4 separate regions of the Homo sapiens genome follow, and all the other regions are linked to region 1. Evidence: promoter capture Hi-C in 16 types of primary human blood cells and fetal thymus (Javierre and others, 2016). All regions are on one chromosome and are shown on one strand. The core of a region is centred on a gene start or on the middle of the fragment in contact, and the rest is flanking DNA. Distances in the headings are between cores, read along the strand shown. Region 1 holds the start of ZNF366 (zinc finger protein 366). Region 2 overlaps TNPO1 (transportin 1). Region 3 overlaps TNPO1 (transportin 1). Region 4 overlaps TNPO1 (transportin 1).

Region 1 (3,496 bases), core at 562-3,061:
TGCTTTTTTATTGTGAATTTCAGCTGCCTGCTTGTTTCACCTCCGGTTACTCAAAGGTTTGCCCCAGTGTTTCTCCCCCTTTAAAAGACTCCATTCCTAGGCCTTCCTGCTCCATTCCCTCATGCCCTTCCCTGGCTTTCTCAGATTTTCATTTTCATTTCCCTTCCCATTTCTACAAAGGCAGGATGTAGAGGAAGGCCAGCAGAGGGCAAAGAGCCCGAGAGCCGGGATCAGGAGACAGGAACGTGTTGGCGTGTGGCTCTAAGCGAACCAAAGAGACTGTCTCTGGTCATCCGTGTTCCCCACTGTTGGTGAGGCTGGGTCACCCAGGCCAGAACTCAGTGCCATGGGTTGTGCCAGTGTTGGTGCTGTGGCGGATGCAAGGAATGGGACTCTGCTCTGGCTTGTGCACACCTACCGAGTAACAAAATCTTCATGTCTCTCTCTGATACATGCACACATATTCAGATAACTAGATAGACAGGGAGATAGATAGATATATGGATAGATTAGATAGATAGATGATAGATAGATAGATAGATAGATAGATGATAGATAGACAGATAGATGATAGAAAAATATCTGTCAGAATAAAAACATAATCCTATAGGCCAATAAGGACTCAATCAAAATCTTACAGGGTCACTGAATCAGAATCATTCTTCCCCTGAACTCACTTTCATGACTCTTTGCAATCAGGTGTATCTGTCCACCCCATTTTTTTCACAGTTGGGTGAAATGAGGAAGTAGTGTAAGGCTGGTTTTTCTTTTGCTGCCACAAAGGTCTACATAACTGCTGGTTCCTGTTCACAGTGAAAATGGTCCTAACCAGATGAATAAGGGACACAAGAGACATAACACAAATCAGAGAAGTTAAAACCAAGCTTATTCCTAAGTGCAACTAGCCTAAGCAAGCTCATGCCTGCCTGCTGAAGCCCCAAGTCTTCTACCTTGATAAAGGTTACTCCCTCCATTTTAACTGCTCCTGCCTCCCCTATCTTTTTTCGAACACCATGGCTGATTTATCTAAACCCTATGCTGCTTCACAGTATTTTGAAAACAAATTAGAAATCTCCTTCCAGTTTTCCAGAGGTGATTAAATCCAAGACGCCTTAGGAATGTAGAGGATAGAATAATATAAACAACAGATCTGAGATAACCATGGCCGGCAGCAGTTGTGGTTAGTTGCTTCTTTTCCTTTTTCATCCATCAGTGATGGAAGCTGGATTGGGTCCACTGTATAAAGTTCGGTGGGCATAAATCTGCTATTTGATCCTGGAAAAACTCTAAGGATCTAGAGTCAGCGAGGAATTGCAGCAATGCTGGTGTTTCAAAGGGCCTAAGAAAAGCCAGGAGTCCTGGCTGCCCAGCCCCGACACTGTCTTACAGGCTGCAGGTTTACCTTGGTTAGCACAACAGGCCAAGCTCTCCCTTGCTCTAAGTCGACATGACATGATTTGTTCCCTTTCGGCTGTGTCAGTTCTGCAAACCAGATACCAGAGGCTGCAGGCTCAGGAGAGCCTGCCTGTCTGGAACACCGTTTGTTTGGACAGGACAGGCCACTAAGGCGTTTCATCTCTTTAAAGCTCCCAGGGCAGAGAACATATTTGAGGAATTCCTTTTTTCAAAGATTTTTTTTTTTTGCCCCTTCCAACATTTTGTTTAAGAGAAAATGAGATGTCTATCTTCTGTTTCCTTATTTTTTTTCAGGAAAGCAAAGGGTTGTTGACTTCCTCCCTCTCCCCTCCCTTCCTTCCTTCTTCCCGAAGGTACTCATCTGAGAAAAAGAGAACGAAGTATTGTTCCTGTTCTCTTTCTTAAGTCATTCGAAACACTGTCCCTGCGAGTTCTTTAAGTTCCCTGCAATCTGTACACAAGAGAAAGAGGGAGAGAGAGAGGGAGAGAGACAGAGAGAGCAGGGATCAGGTAAAGGAGTGGGGCTGCTGCAGCCATTCAGACCTCAGGAGCTGGTAAGTTACCCATGCAATCATTTCTGCTTCCTTTTCAAGGTTCCTGGGTGGATACTGCTGTGGGCATCTTCAACAGAAAATACCTTACTGGGAGTAGTCCTTAACCAAAGGGTATAAGTGATAGATGGCCCAGAATTTCAGCTAATACTTTTTTTTGGTAAGAGAATACTGATGCTTTGCAGAACTAAGGCTGGCAAAACTAGAAATAGAATTACATTGGGACTAAAGAGGACACTGCGTTAAATCTGAATTTTGGCACAGATCATGTGGCTGGGAGAACCAGGAGCCACTGGCGTGTGAGATGTGTCCCACTGGAGAATTTGCTCTTCCTCAGTACTGTGTCCTGGGAGCCTTATCAGGGTGTCTGTTAAGGACTGTGGTTTGCTCTGGGGTTTTTGTTAATACGTTACCTGGATTGAGGTGCCCTTCTCCTGTTCTTTTCTTTCCATTCAGCATCCCCCTAAAGGAGGATTGTTAATTGTTATATGATGGTTATTCTGCATCACTGAAGTAGAAGGGAAAGAGAGAAGGGAATGTCACTTGGAAATAGTTCTGCATGTGGGGAGCTTATGTGTTCAGGTTCCCCATGCGGGTTGAGTGTAAATTTATTATTCACTGTCAGTGGAAGATGTCATCTGCCACATGATAGAAGGCAAAGGTTTTGGGGCATATAGCTTTAGTTTTGGAAAACAATATGCAGCTAGAATGGGAGGATTAAGATGGATCATTTATGTCAGTAGGAGGGAAAAACTAAGTTACAGACGCAATTGAAAAGCATTCACCCAGTGCCTGGTTTTCCAAGCACCAAATAGGGCGTAGCAAGCTAGTCAAGCTAACATACACAACTAGTTTTTAAAAGTCTAACTTGCTTCAATTAGATTAGTCATAAAGGATAATGTTACCAGCACCTATCATCGCAAGCCATGAGGGAGCCGAAATCATGTTGTCAAAAATAGGTCAGCAAGGTCACTCCGAGAGACTCGTTATGTTTCCCAATATTAATACTTTAATTCAGAGAGATGCCGAATGGGTAAAAGCCAATGGCCAAGCATACTTTTTAAAAATATTCACTGCTATGAAATTTACTGATTGAAATCACCTGGGATGTGAAGAATAAGATAAAAATAGCTGGACTCTCATTTTAAAAATTAATTTGGCTAGACTATGCTTTAACCACATTCAAGTAATTAATCTTTATTCAAAATTGAACCATCATCTTACTAAGGATGAGAAAACATGACAGAACTAGACTGTGATGTAGCTTTTGTTCCATTAGTCAGACCTCTTTTTTCTTCTCCTTTTTTCAAGGATTTTCTTTAGGAGCATCATAAAACGAGCAATGTAAAGAGACGTGAATAGCGTTTGCCAGCTTGCGGATGCAAAATTATTCTAATAACAATTGAAAGTGTTTTACTGCTACCCTACCACCTCCCCTAACTACTCCATTTCCATAGATCTTCAGATCAAGAGGTAGCTGGAATAGATTGTCGAGGGCATTATTGCATCATTTATCAGCAACTGTGGCC
Region 2 (3,496 bases), core at 408-2,907, 360 kb before region 1:
ATTTTAAGCTTTATGGGCCACATGAAGACCTTTGTTGTCATTTTTTTCCCTCTTAATTACAACCTCTTAAATTTAAAAATCATCCTTACCTTGCAGGTCATGGGCTAAATTTGGCTCCATGGGACATAGTTTGCTGACTACTTGCCTAGACATTCCTTTATACTGTGGCTCCTCCCTTACCCCCTAACTTCAATTCCCATTATGCTGCTACAACCCAAAGTTTCTTTCTTTTGTCACTCTAAAAGGCTGATTCCTAATTCCAGAGACTTCTCACTTGCTGTTCTGTCTTAAACATCCTTCACCATCTTTCATAGACTCACTTCCTTACTTTGTTCAGTCTTTGCACAAACGTTTCCTTTACAGACAGCCATTTACATAAAGTATCTCTGAATCACTGTCTATCCCTGATCTCATTATTTTTCCATTGTACTCATGACTGTATGAAATCATATTACTTATTCATTATCTGTCCTGTCTCCTCTTCTGAAATATAACCCCATGAAAACCTTTCTTTGTCTTAACCACTGTGCCAAAAACAGTTGATTTTTGGTTCTGCAGTTACAGCAAAGCACATAAACATTTACCAAGATAACATTAAGTGAAAAAAGCATACTATGGGGAGCTCAACCCCTTAAATGTTCAACACAGGGTAAGCTACCTATGCTTTAAAGTGTGTTTTTCTCATTCTATAAAACTACTACTGGCTGGGCGCAGTGACTCACGCCTGTAATCCTAGCACTTTGGGAGGCCGAGGCGGGCGGATCACTTGAGGTCAGGAGTTCTAGACCAGCCTGGCCAACATGGTGAAACCCTGCCTCTACTAAAAATACAAAAATTAGCCGGGCCTGGTGGTGCATGCCTGTAATCCCAGCTATTCGGGAGGCTGAGGCAGGAGGCAGGAGAATCGCTTGAACCCGGGCAGCGGAGGTTGCAGTGAGCCGAGATCGCGCCACTGTACTCTAGCCTGGGCGATGGAGAGAGACTCAGTCTCAAAAAAAACCAACTCTGTCTCAAAAACAACAGCAACCTACAATTCATTCATTTGTTGGGGGGATTAAACTACATGAGCTAATATATATGTTAAGTACTTGGCATAGTAAACAAATGGAAAAAAAATACAATAAAGTCTTTTAAAGGGCCTTTAAATCAAGAACAGAAATCTTTTAACTTGCATTTTTTTTGTGTGCATGTAAGGCAAAATTTAAAGGCAGAAATCTCTCCTATCCCCAACCTCCAGAGGCACCTACTACTAGCCTCCCCAAACCATTTTTAGAAACTTGGGAACAGTTAGGACTTACATTTTAAATTAAAAGAAACAGTGTGACGTGCTTTCTTTGGAAGTTTAATATAGTTTCTATACATCAGCAATGAAGGAAAAAACTAGAAAGTGTAACTTAAATGCTACCATTTACAATAGTATCATAAGACCAAGTAAGTGCCTGGGAATACATTTAATATGTAATATGTTCAAGGCCTCTAAAAAGAAAAGTAGAAAACTTCATTAAAAACAAGCAATTGGCTGGGCACGGTGGCTCACGCCTGTAATCCCAGCACTCTGGGAGGCTACGGTGGGCGGATCACCTGAGGTCAGGAGTTGGAGACCAGGCTGGCCAACATGGTGAAACCCCATCTCCACCAAAAATAAAAAATTAGCTGGGAGTGATGGCATGCGCCTGTAATTCCAGCTATACTTGGGAGGCTGAGGCAGGAGAATCGCTTGAACCTGGGAGGTGGAGGTTGCAGTGAGCAGGGATAATGCCATTGCACTCTAGTGTGGGAGACAAGAGTGAAACTCCGTCTCAAAAAAAAAAAAAAAAAAAGCAATTAGTATTGTGAAAATGACTATTTCTTCTAAATTGATCCACAGATTTAATGTTATTCCAACGTAAATTCCAACAAGGCTTTTCATAAAACTTGACAACTGTAGAATTTATAAGGAAGAGAAAAGGCATTCCTACTGTCCTACTGAAAGCTCTAAATATCATTTCCCAATAAAAGGAATCAGATCTAGGCCAGAAATACAGATGATAAACTTGGAATGCTATGGATATCTGTGTATATAAAAATAAAACTTCCTTGTATTGATTTCTGGTGATCAAAGGCAATAACAAAGGCAGAATAATTACTCATGTCACATATTCATAATCAATATCAATTTGTTAATTAGATCTGTCTGATACTATATAAATGGCATTTGTTTGTGAAGAATGAATTTTTCTCCAATATGATCTCTTCCTTATAGATTATAAGAAAATATTCCCCCAGAAGCATCTGAGGTATTTAGTAAGCTCAGAGTAATTCTGTTAAATCATGTATATTTTCAATTCTAATTTCTCATCCTGAAAGTCTGCATATTCCAGGTCAAATTCTGATTTTTAGCCTTTCTTCAACTCATATTTTTATAAGGTAAAACTGTCTTTATTTATTTTTTTGAGATGGAGTCTCACTCTGTCACCCAGGAGGGAGTGCAGTGGCGCAATGTCAGCTCACCACAACCTCCGCCTCCTGGGTTCAAGTGATTCTCGTGCCTCAGCCTCCCAAGTAACTGGGATTACAGGTGCATGCCACCATGCCAGGCTAACTTTTGTATTTTTAATGGAGGTAGGATTTTGCCATGTTGGCCGGGCTGGTCTCAAACTCCTGACCTCAGGTGATCCACTCGCCTCAGCCTCCCAAAGTGCTGGGATTACAGGTGTGAGCCACTACGCCCTGCCATTTATTATTTTAAAAGTTCTGCCAATTTTATATGTTGTAAAACTGTAGGCCTTATTTTCATTCCATTCTGGGACATAATATAAATTTACCTTATAAATAGGAGTAACGTTACCCAAAATTTTTTTCAAGTTGAGATAAGCCAGAACACAATAAAAATACGGAAAAATTATCTTAATATAGTTTGAGCTGTTTGTACAACTCTTTCCTTGCTGTGTAGAAATTCATTGCAATATGTTATAAACTTTTTTTATTTTGAGATGGAGTTTTGCTCTTGTTGCCCATGCTGGAGTTGCAATGGCACGATCTCGGCTCACTGCAACCTCCGCCTCCCGGGTTCAAGTGATTCTCATGCCTCAGCCTCCCGAGTAGCTAGGATTACAAGCACCCGCCACCACGTCCAGCTAATTTTTTGTATCTTTAGTAGAGACAGGGTTTCACCATGTTGGCCAGGCTAGTCTTGAACCCCTGACTTCAGGTGATCCACCGCGCCCAGCCTAAACTTTAAGTAACTGCAACTTGTTAAAAAAAGAAAAAAGCCTCAAACACTCCAATTTTTGCTCTAAGATATATCAGAATTCAATTTGAAGCTTTAGTCATGAAACAGCAATAGAATAAAATAGAGGGCCCATTAATACACCTATGCACGCATATAACTAAGCATATAACAGAGGTGACATTTTAAACTGATGGGGAGAAGGGACTATAAAATAAATGTGACAGCAAGAAAAAGTTACATAAATGGAAAAGACAGAATGTTTATCTACCCCATAACACACCCACA
Region 3 (3,496 bases), core at 431-2,930, 340 kb before region 1:
CCTCTTGCCACTACTTAACAAGTTGTGTGTTTGTGTTTTTTTAAGTACTTCTGAAGCACTTAAGTACACTGGAGTGCAGTGGCACGATCACAGCTCACTGTAGCCTTGACCTCCTGAGCTCAGGTGATCCTCCCACCTCAGCCTCCTGAGTAGCGGGACCACAGGTGTGTGCCACTATGCCAGCTAATTTTTACAGAGATGGAGTTTCACCATTCACTATGTTGCTGATCTTGAACTCCTTGCCTGAAGCAATCTTCCTGCTTTGGCCTCTCAAAGTGCTGGGATTACAGGCGTGAGCCACCTTGCCTGGCCTGAGGTATCCTTATATCCCAAGAAAGAGCCACCTTGCCTGGCCTGAAGGAAGTATCCTTATATCCCAAGAAAGCTGTACTCAAGAGTATAATATTGTAACAATCCTAATATTTGGAATGTAGGATAAGAACATGAGAGTGGACAGCTTAGTGAAAATAAATTTAAAAATTTCAAATAAAACAATTAGATTTAAAAAATCCATTTATAAATATCTTAGTATAAGAAACAAACAGGTTGATCACAAACTGTCAGAAAAATTTCTATATTAAGAAGCAATGTATCGCAAATATCAAACTAGGAATATTAATTGTTGAAATAATTCTTAGTTTCTTAAAACCTAGACTTAAGAGTTCTAAATTTTCTATTGTGTCCTTCATTCACAAATTAAAATCCCCCAAATTAACTACAAAATCAACTGAAAATAATTCAAAAGAAATCACCGTGCAAGAATTATGAAAATCTGAATACAAATCAGTGAGTTTTTACTACACAATAACACTATTAACCTGTCAGAATTTGGAGCTGAAACTTTACAGATGGTCTGGTTGTCTAAACCTTGTTATTTCCCAATTCCAAGTGCAGTGATTTTATTAATTGCACCATGGCTTCTAAAACACTAATCACTGAATAGGGTACAGCGCTTTCATTTAGAGGCCAATCAGTTGCGCAATAAATATTTAATTGACTTCTATGTGTCCACAATGTTTCAGGGAGGGAATACCCAAATAATGCTATGAGAAACAACTCTCACTACAACGTAAGCTCCTTGAGGGCAGTGATTTTTGTCTGTTTTGTTCACCTTTCTCTCCTGAGCCTGTAAATTGCATGGCAGAGATGGCGCTCCATAAATATTTATGAAATAATGTCTAGTGGGATGCGTTACATATTATTAGAAATAATCAAATGACCATGTTATTTAAAAATCAGACTACTCAGGCTTTAAACTGTCATAGAAATCATTTAAATTTAAAATTAAGAGTCATGAAAAAGTTTCATGTAGACTTTTAGAAGTTTTTTAAAAAGTTACAAAAGTCTACTTATCAATAGAATGATCCCACTTTTTGCTAAATAATTTTAAAATAGTATGTGACCATATAAGAGCAGAGAAGGATATAATTGAAGAGATCAACAATAATCATCTCTGGAAGATGGGATAAATAATTTTTCATTTTGATTATATGACCTTTCAATTTTTTTCTACAAAAAACACACATATTCAGTTATTAAAACCTACATTCAATCTTTGTATTACAACCTTTGTTATATCCATCTATATGCATGAAAGCAAAACATTAAAGTAGACTTTGCAACAAGTTTTTCATCTGCAAAGAATTAAGTAACTTATTATACAAACACCCTATTAAAAATGAATGCTGGCTGGGCACAGTGGCTCACACCTGCAATCCGAGCACTTTGGGAGACTGCGGCAGGCGAATCCCCAGAGGCCAGGAGTTCAAGGTTAGCCTGGCCAACAAGGCAAAACTCTGTCTCTACTAAAAATACAAAAAAATTAGCTGGATGTGATGGCGCATGCCTGTAATCCCGGCTACTAGGGAGGTTTGGCATGAGCATTGCTTGAACCCGGGAGGCAGATATTGTAGTGAGCCAAGATCGCACCACTGCACTCCAGCCTGGGTGATAGAGTGAGACTCTGTCTGTATATACATTAAAAAAAAGGAATTCTTATTAAACATGTAAATACTGAGTGGTATTAACTAAGACTGTTTATCCCACATCTATAAAGCACAAGGTTACTACAAAATGAAATCCTTTGAAATGAATAATTCTCAGTACATTTAAACAGGTCTTAAAGAAACTTTAAATAGTTATCAATACAAATCCTACTTACCTTCAGATTTTAATTTTGTAAGAACAAAAATCAAGTAGTTGTTAAAGTCTGGATACTGATTAAGTTGTTCCAGTTTCTAGAACAAACAGTAGTTAAGGAAACTTCTCTGTGTAATCTCAGGAAGAAATTAAGCATTTTAAATCTAAAAATCAAGGATCTCTTTGGTGGTATTTTCAGTCCTGCGTTTTTTTTTTAAACTAAGAATAAGGATATCTTACTAAATCTATCAACATCTATTTCAAAAACACGCTAGTGCTTGCTAAACCTCTTAGGTGCTTTATGGCTGAAATGTATCAATTACATGCAATACAACATAAGAAAGTTCCAGCTTCAGCATGCTCAATATAGCAAAAAATATTCAAAAAAATTCTTGGATTTCAACTTTAAACCATTCTAAATAGAAAGGTATTTAAGCATAAAATGACAAAAATAAAAGCATTCCAAATGAAAACAAGTCTTTCAGAGTTGAAGATCATTTAGAGAAATTAACTTTATAGAATAACTTTTAAAAAAAAGATACTTCTCAGACTCATTTGTTCTTTAGAATCCAAAAAGATAAAGTGCCATTTATGCACAAGGCTATATATCTTATTATAAAGTCAGCATTATGAGATTATTGCACTACAGCTGTACAATTCTTCCCCTCATCCCCAAGATGCAACATTTTTAGTGATACCAATTTGCAGGTATTTCATCGCTGTCGGGAGGCAGCTGTGACAAAATGCTCTATTACATCTTTCTTCAAGCCCTGACTCCCAACCCCTAACTAACATGCTTCCCAATTGTGTTTTACTACACAGAAAGATTAAAATGTTTTGTCACCCAACAAATCTAAATTTCTGATTAAATCCATGAATCAAACTCCAGTAACACTTTATTAGCTATTTATTACATATTTGAATACCCTCAATGTTTATGGGTCAGAAAGTAAACGAACCAACAACATAGTCTCTAGTAAAACTGCAAGGTGTAACTACTTTCTCCAACCAAGACAGTAATTCTTGTTTTAGTGAATGGCCCAGATTAACAACAAGCTGATATGCCAATGAATTTTTCAAAACTATTTCCTGATAAAGTTTACCTTTTTACAACTTAAGCTACATCTCTTTATCCTATTATAGCGGTCTTTCAAAAAGTACTCAAAAGCCTATACAAAATAATAATTAAATATATTATCTTCTTAGGAGAAACAAAATAAGGCACTCTGAAACAGCAGTATGTATTCTTAGCTAAAGTAGTTTTCCTCTCACAGCAACAGAAAGTTGTTCTTTCTCAGAGGACATACTAAGTTCCAGGCACACAGAATAAACTGTAAATTGACTACTTGCCCAAGCA
Region 4 (3,496 bases), core at 634-3,133, 330 kb before region 1:
ACAGAAGCACATAAATTTTGGGGGGCCAGGGGCAGAATGCTATGATTTGAATGTGTCCTACCAAAATTCATCTTGAAACTTAACCCTCAATGCAACAATATTAACAGGTGGAGTCTTTAGGAAGTGATTACGTCATGAGAGTTCTGTCCTCATTAATGGGATTAATACCCTTATCAAATGGCTTAAGGGAGCCAGTTTGGCCTTTCTGCTCCCCTTCCACCATGTGAGGGCACATCCCTTCGTCCATGTGGGGATGCAGCAAGAAGGCTCCATTTATGAAGCAGAGGGCAAGCCTTCACTAGATATCAAATTGGCTGGACTTCCCAGGCTGTGTACTACTATGAGAAATACATTTTTATTATTTTGTAAATTACCCAGTCTAAGGTATTTTGCAACAGCAACAGACAAAGGCAGGTGATATTCTAAAGTAGAAAAATCAAAACAGAAATATTGGAAGAATAAGAACAAAGAAAAAAATGGAAACCAAGTGGTGGACATTAAAGCAGACATGAATTAAATCAGTACAAAAATTGTATACGGGCAAAAACTTAGTCATGTGTCAGTTAAGGACAGGGATACGGTCTAAGAAATGCATTGTTAGGCAATTTCCTTGTTGTTGTAACATCATAGAGTGTGCTTACATGAACTTAGATGGTATAGCCTACTACACACCTAGGCTATATGGTATAGCTTGTGGCTCCTAGGCCACAAACCTGTATAGCATGTTGCTGTACTGAATACTGCAGGCAATGGTAACACAATGGTAAGTACTTGTGTATCTACACATATGTAAACATACAAAAGGTATGGTAAAAAAGCATAAAAAGATAAAAGGCATAAAAATAAAAAATAAAGTATAAAAAGCATGAAAAATAAAAAAATGGTTTATCAATATAAGGGACTTAACATGAATGGAGCTTATAGGACTAGAAGTTGCCCTGGGTGAGTCAGAGAGTAAGCGGTGAGTGAATGCAAAGGCCTAGGACAATACTGTACACTACTGTACTTAAACAACAATTTCTTTCTTCAATAATAAATTAACCTCAGCTGTTACTGTAACTTTTTATTTTATGAACTTTAGATTTTAAAAGTTTTGACTCTTTTAATACTTAGCTTATAACACAAACACACTGTACAGCTATACAAAAATATTTTCTCCTTATAGCTGTATTCTACACACTTTTTTATATTAATTTTTGTTTTACTTTTTAAACTTTTTTGTTAAAAATGAAGACACGAACACACACATTGGCCTAGGCCTGCACAGGGTCAGTGTCATCAATGCCACTGTCTTCCACCTCTGTATCCTGTCCCACTGGAAGGTCTTCAGCAGCAATAACAAGCATGGAGCTGTCATCTCCCATGATAACAATGCCTTCTTCTAGAATACCTCCTGAAGGACCTGGCTGAGGTGGTTTTACAGTGGACTTTTTAAAAAATAAGTAGAAGTACACTAAAAATAACAATAATATAGTAAATACATGAACCAATAATAGTTATTTACTATCATTATCAAGTATTATGTATTGTGCATAATCATATGTGCTATATTTTTATATAACTGGCAGTGCAGGTTTATTTACACCAGGGCCACCGCAGACATATGAGTGAGTAATGCATTGCATTACAGCATCAAGACGCAATAGAAGCTTTTCAGCTCTCTATCATAATCTTATGGGACCACCATGGTATATGTAGTCCATCGTTGACTGAAATGCATGAGTGTAGTTAATGGAGGGTGCACCTCATATTATGCAAAGGGATAGGACAAGAAAATTCTATAGAGATGGTCCAAAAGTGGGAAAAAATCAGTAGGAACTAATGTCATATGATAGACTACCGTACAACTAAAAGTTTAGTACAAAAAACAGCAGCATATATTCTGTAAGTGTTCACATTATTTTTCTGTTACTGTGATAAAGAAACACTGAGGCTCAACCAGGATTAATGAGACGTATAAAAATTCATGAGTATAAAAAACAGAATGAAATGTGAGATGGGAAGGAAATCTGAAATGACACTGGACACAAAAGATAATGTTAATCTGTACACATTAAGAAAGTGTTCAGTTTATAAGCATGGACCCTTAAAACTGAATCTTAGGTTAAAAAGCTTATTTTAGTCTTACAAATAGAGATATTAAGTTGTTGGCCAATTGAATATCATGTCCATTCATTCCCCTCAGCCCACAAAATAAAAATTTATTAACTTTAACTGTAATTAGAGAATGGCAATCATAGCATCTAAGCTTCAGAATGTAATGAGTACTAGACAACATCTATCCAATCCTCTTATTTTAAAAATGGGGAAATCAAGACCCAGAAACCAACATTACAGATTAAGAGGGGCTGTGTGCAGTGGCTCATGCCTGTAATACCAGCACTTAGGGAGGTAGAGGTGGACGAACTCCCTAAAACATTCAAATTCTTCCACTTAAAGCAAAAACATCTTGGGACTAGTTTGTCATAATACATAACATTATATAATTATGTAATATATATAATCATGTGGTATATATTTGAATTTTTATCTAATATTGCTATCCTGATTAAGCTCTTTTATTTTCAAGAGGGGGAATAACTCAAATTCGGATTGTCTAAGAGAAAAGGGGAGGTTTATTTTAAGTCATTCATGGATTAGAAATAGAAAGCCATCAGGAAGAAGGCAGTTTTCAGCAGCAGGGAGTTCTCTAGGAATTGCAGGGTTGGTACAATGAAGGCTGATGACTGCCATGGGAATTAATTTCCTTTGATTTGAACACCAATGTAAATCTGAGAGCTGACATGCAAGTCTCTGAAAGGTAGGAAGTCTAATGAATATACCCAGATGGGTGGAGAGTAAACTGAGTGGGAAGAGTAGAGAAAACCCAGAATAAAGTCATCTGCCAATTCAGGTGTACACCTCTTTACGGACAACAGAATTCATTCCCCATCTACTTCTATCCCTCTCCTCTCCTCTCTTCCCCTATCTTTTCCAAATTACACTATTTTGTTTCTGAGCACTGACAATCACTGCCACTGATGCCATCAAGGGAAAAAACACCTCACAATATTCATTTTACTAACACTTTACAACAGGAGAAGATGTAGGGACAGTGGCAATTTACTCTCACTATGATGCTAGCTTTCAGGTAGTACTTGGTTCTCAAGACTCAGACACTCCATATCTCAAAGGACCTACAACATCTCTTAGGCATTTCCAGGAGGTACCACTGTTGACAAATATAGCAGATGAATATCTGCTTTGTATGAACAAGCATAAAAGAGAGCTCCTAAAATATTCCAACAAGAAAGCAATATATTAGTAACTTTTCTGGGAAGCTAATATAGAACGAATAGTAGCACATGAAAGAAAATTCACAGGAGGAAATACAACATTAAACAAACATGAGAAAATGCTGAACCTTACTAGTAATCAAATAAATGTAATAATAAAGTAATGGTTTTAGTCCAATTAGCAAAGATAATTTTGGAATGATAATATCCTATGCTGCTGA

Evidence for each region. The method cuts DNA at HindIII sites, captures the fragments that hold promoters and counts their contacts. A CHiCAGO score of 5 or more calls a contact.
Region 2: a fragment that was not itself captured here is called in contact with the fragment with the promoter of ZNF366 in region 1 in 1 of 17 cell types (endothelial precursors); the score reaches 5.0 in endothelial precursors.
Region 3: a fragment that was not itself captured here is called in contact with the fragment with the promoter of ZNF366 in region 1 in 4 of 17 cell types (M2 macrophages, M0 macrophages, endothelial precursors and 1 more); the score reaches 8.3 in M2 macrophages.
Region 4: a contact is called between a fragment that was not itself captured here and the fragment with the promoter of ZNF366 in region 1, in 1 of 17 cell types (M1 macrophages). The highest score is 6.1, in M1 macrophages.

What each region holds. Positions count from the first base shown.
Region 1 is chr5:72,505,725-72,509,220 of GRCh38, reverse strand. ZNF366 (zinc finger protein 366) reads left to right here and starts at 1,811. Exons shown (of 5, transcript NM_152625.3): 1 at 1,811-1,970. The HindIII fragment of the contact is 5,585 bases long and covers 887-3,496 here.
Region 2 is chr5:72,868,483-72,871,978 of GRCh38, reverse strand. All of the region lies in intron 6 of TNPO1 (transportin 1), which reads right to left. Among named protein-coding and RNA genes, the nearest start is that of MIR4804, 8.4 kb to the left of the region's middle. The HindIII fragment of the contact is 3,294 bases long and covers 11-3,304 here.
Region 3 is chr5:72,849,985-72,853,480 of GRCh38, reverse strand. It overlaps TNPO1 (transportin 1), which reads right to left. Exons shown (of 25, transcript NM_002270.4): 3 at 2,162-2,237. Among named protein-coding and RNA genes, the nearest start is that of MIR4804, 27 kb to the left of the region's middle. The HindIII fragment of the contact is 5,274 bases long and covers 1-3,496 here.
Region 4 is chr5:72,832,236-72,835,731 of GRCh38, reverse strand. All of the region lies in intron 1 of TNPO1 (transportin 1), which reads right to left. Among named protein-coding and RNA genes, the nearest start is that of TNPO1, 17 kb to the right of the region's middle. The HindIII fragment of the contact is 463 bases long and covers 1,652-2,114 here.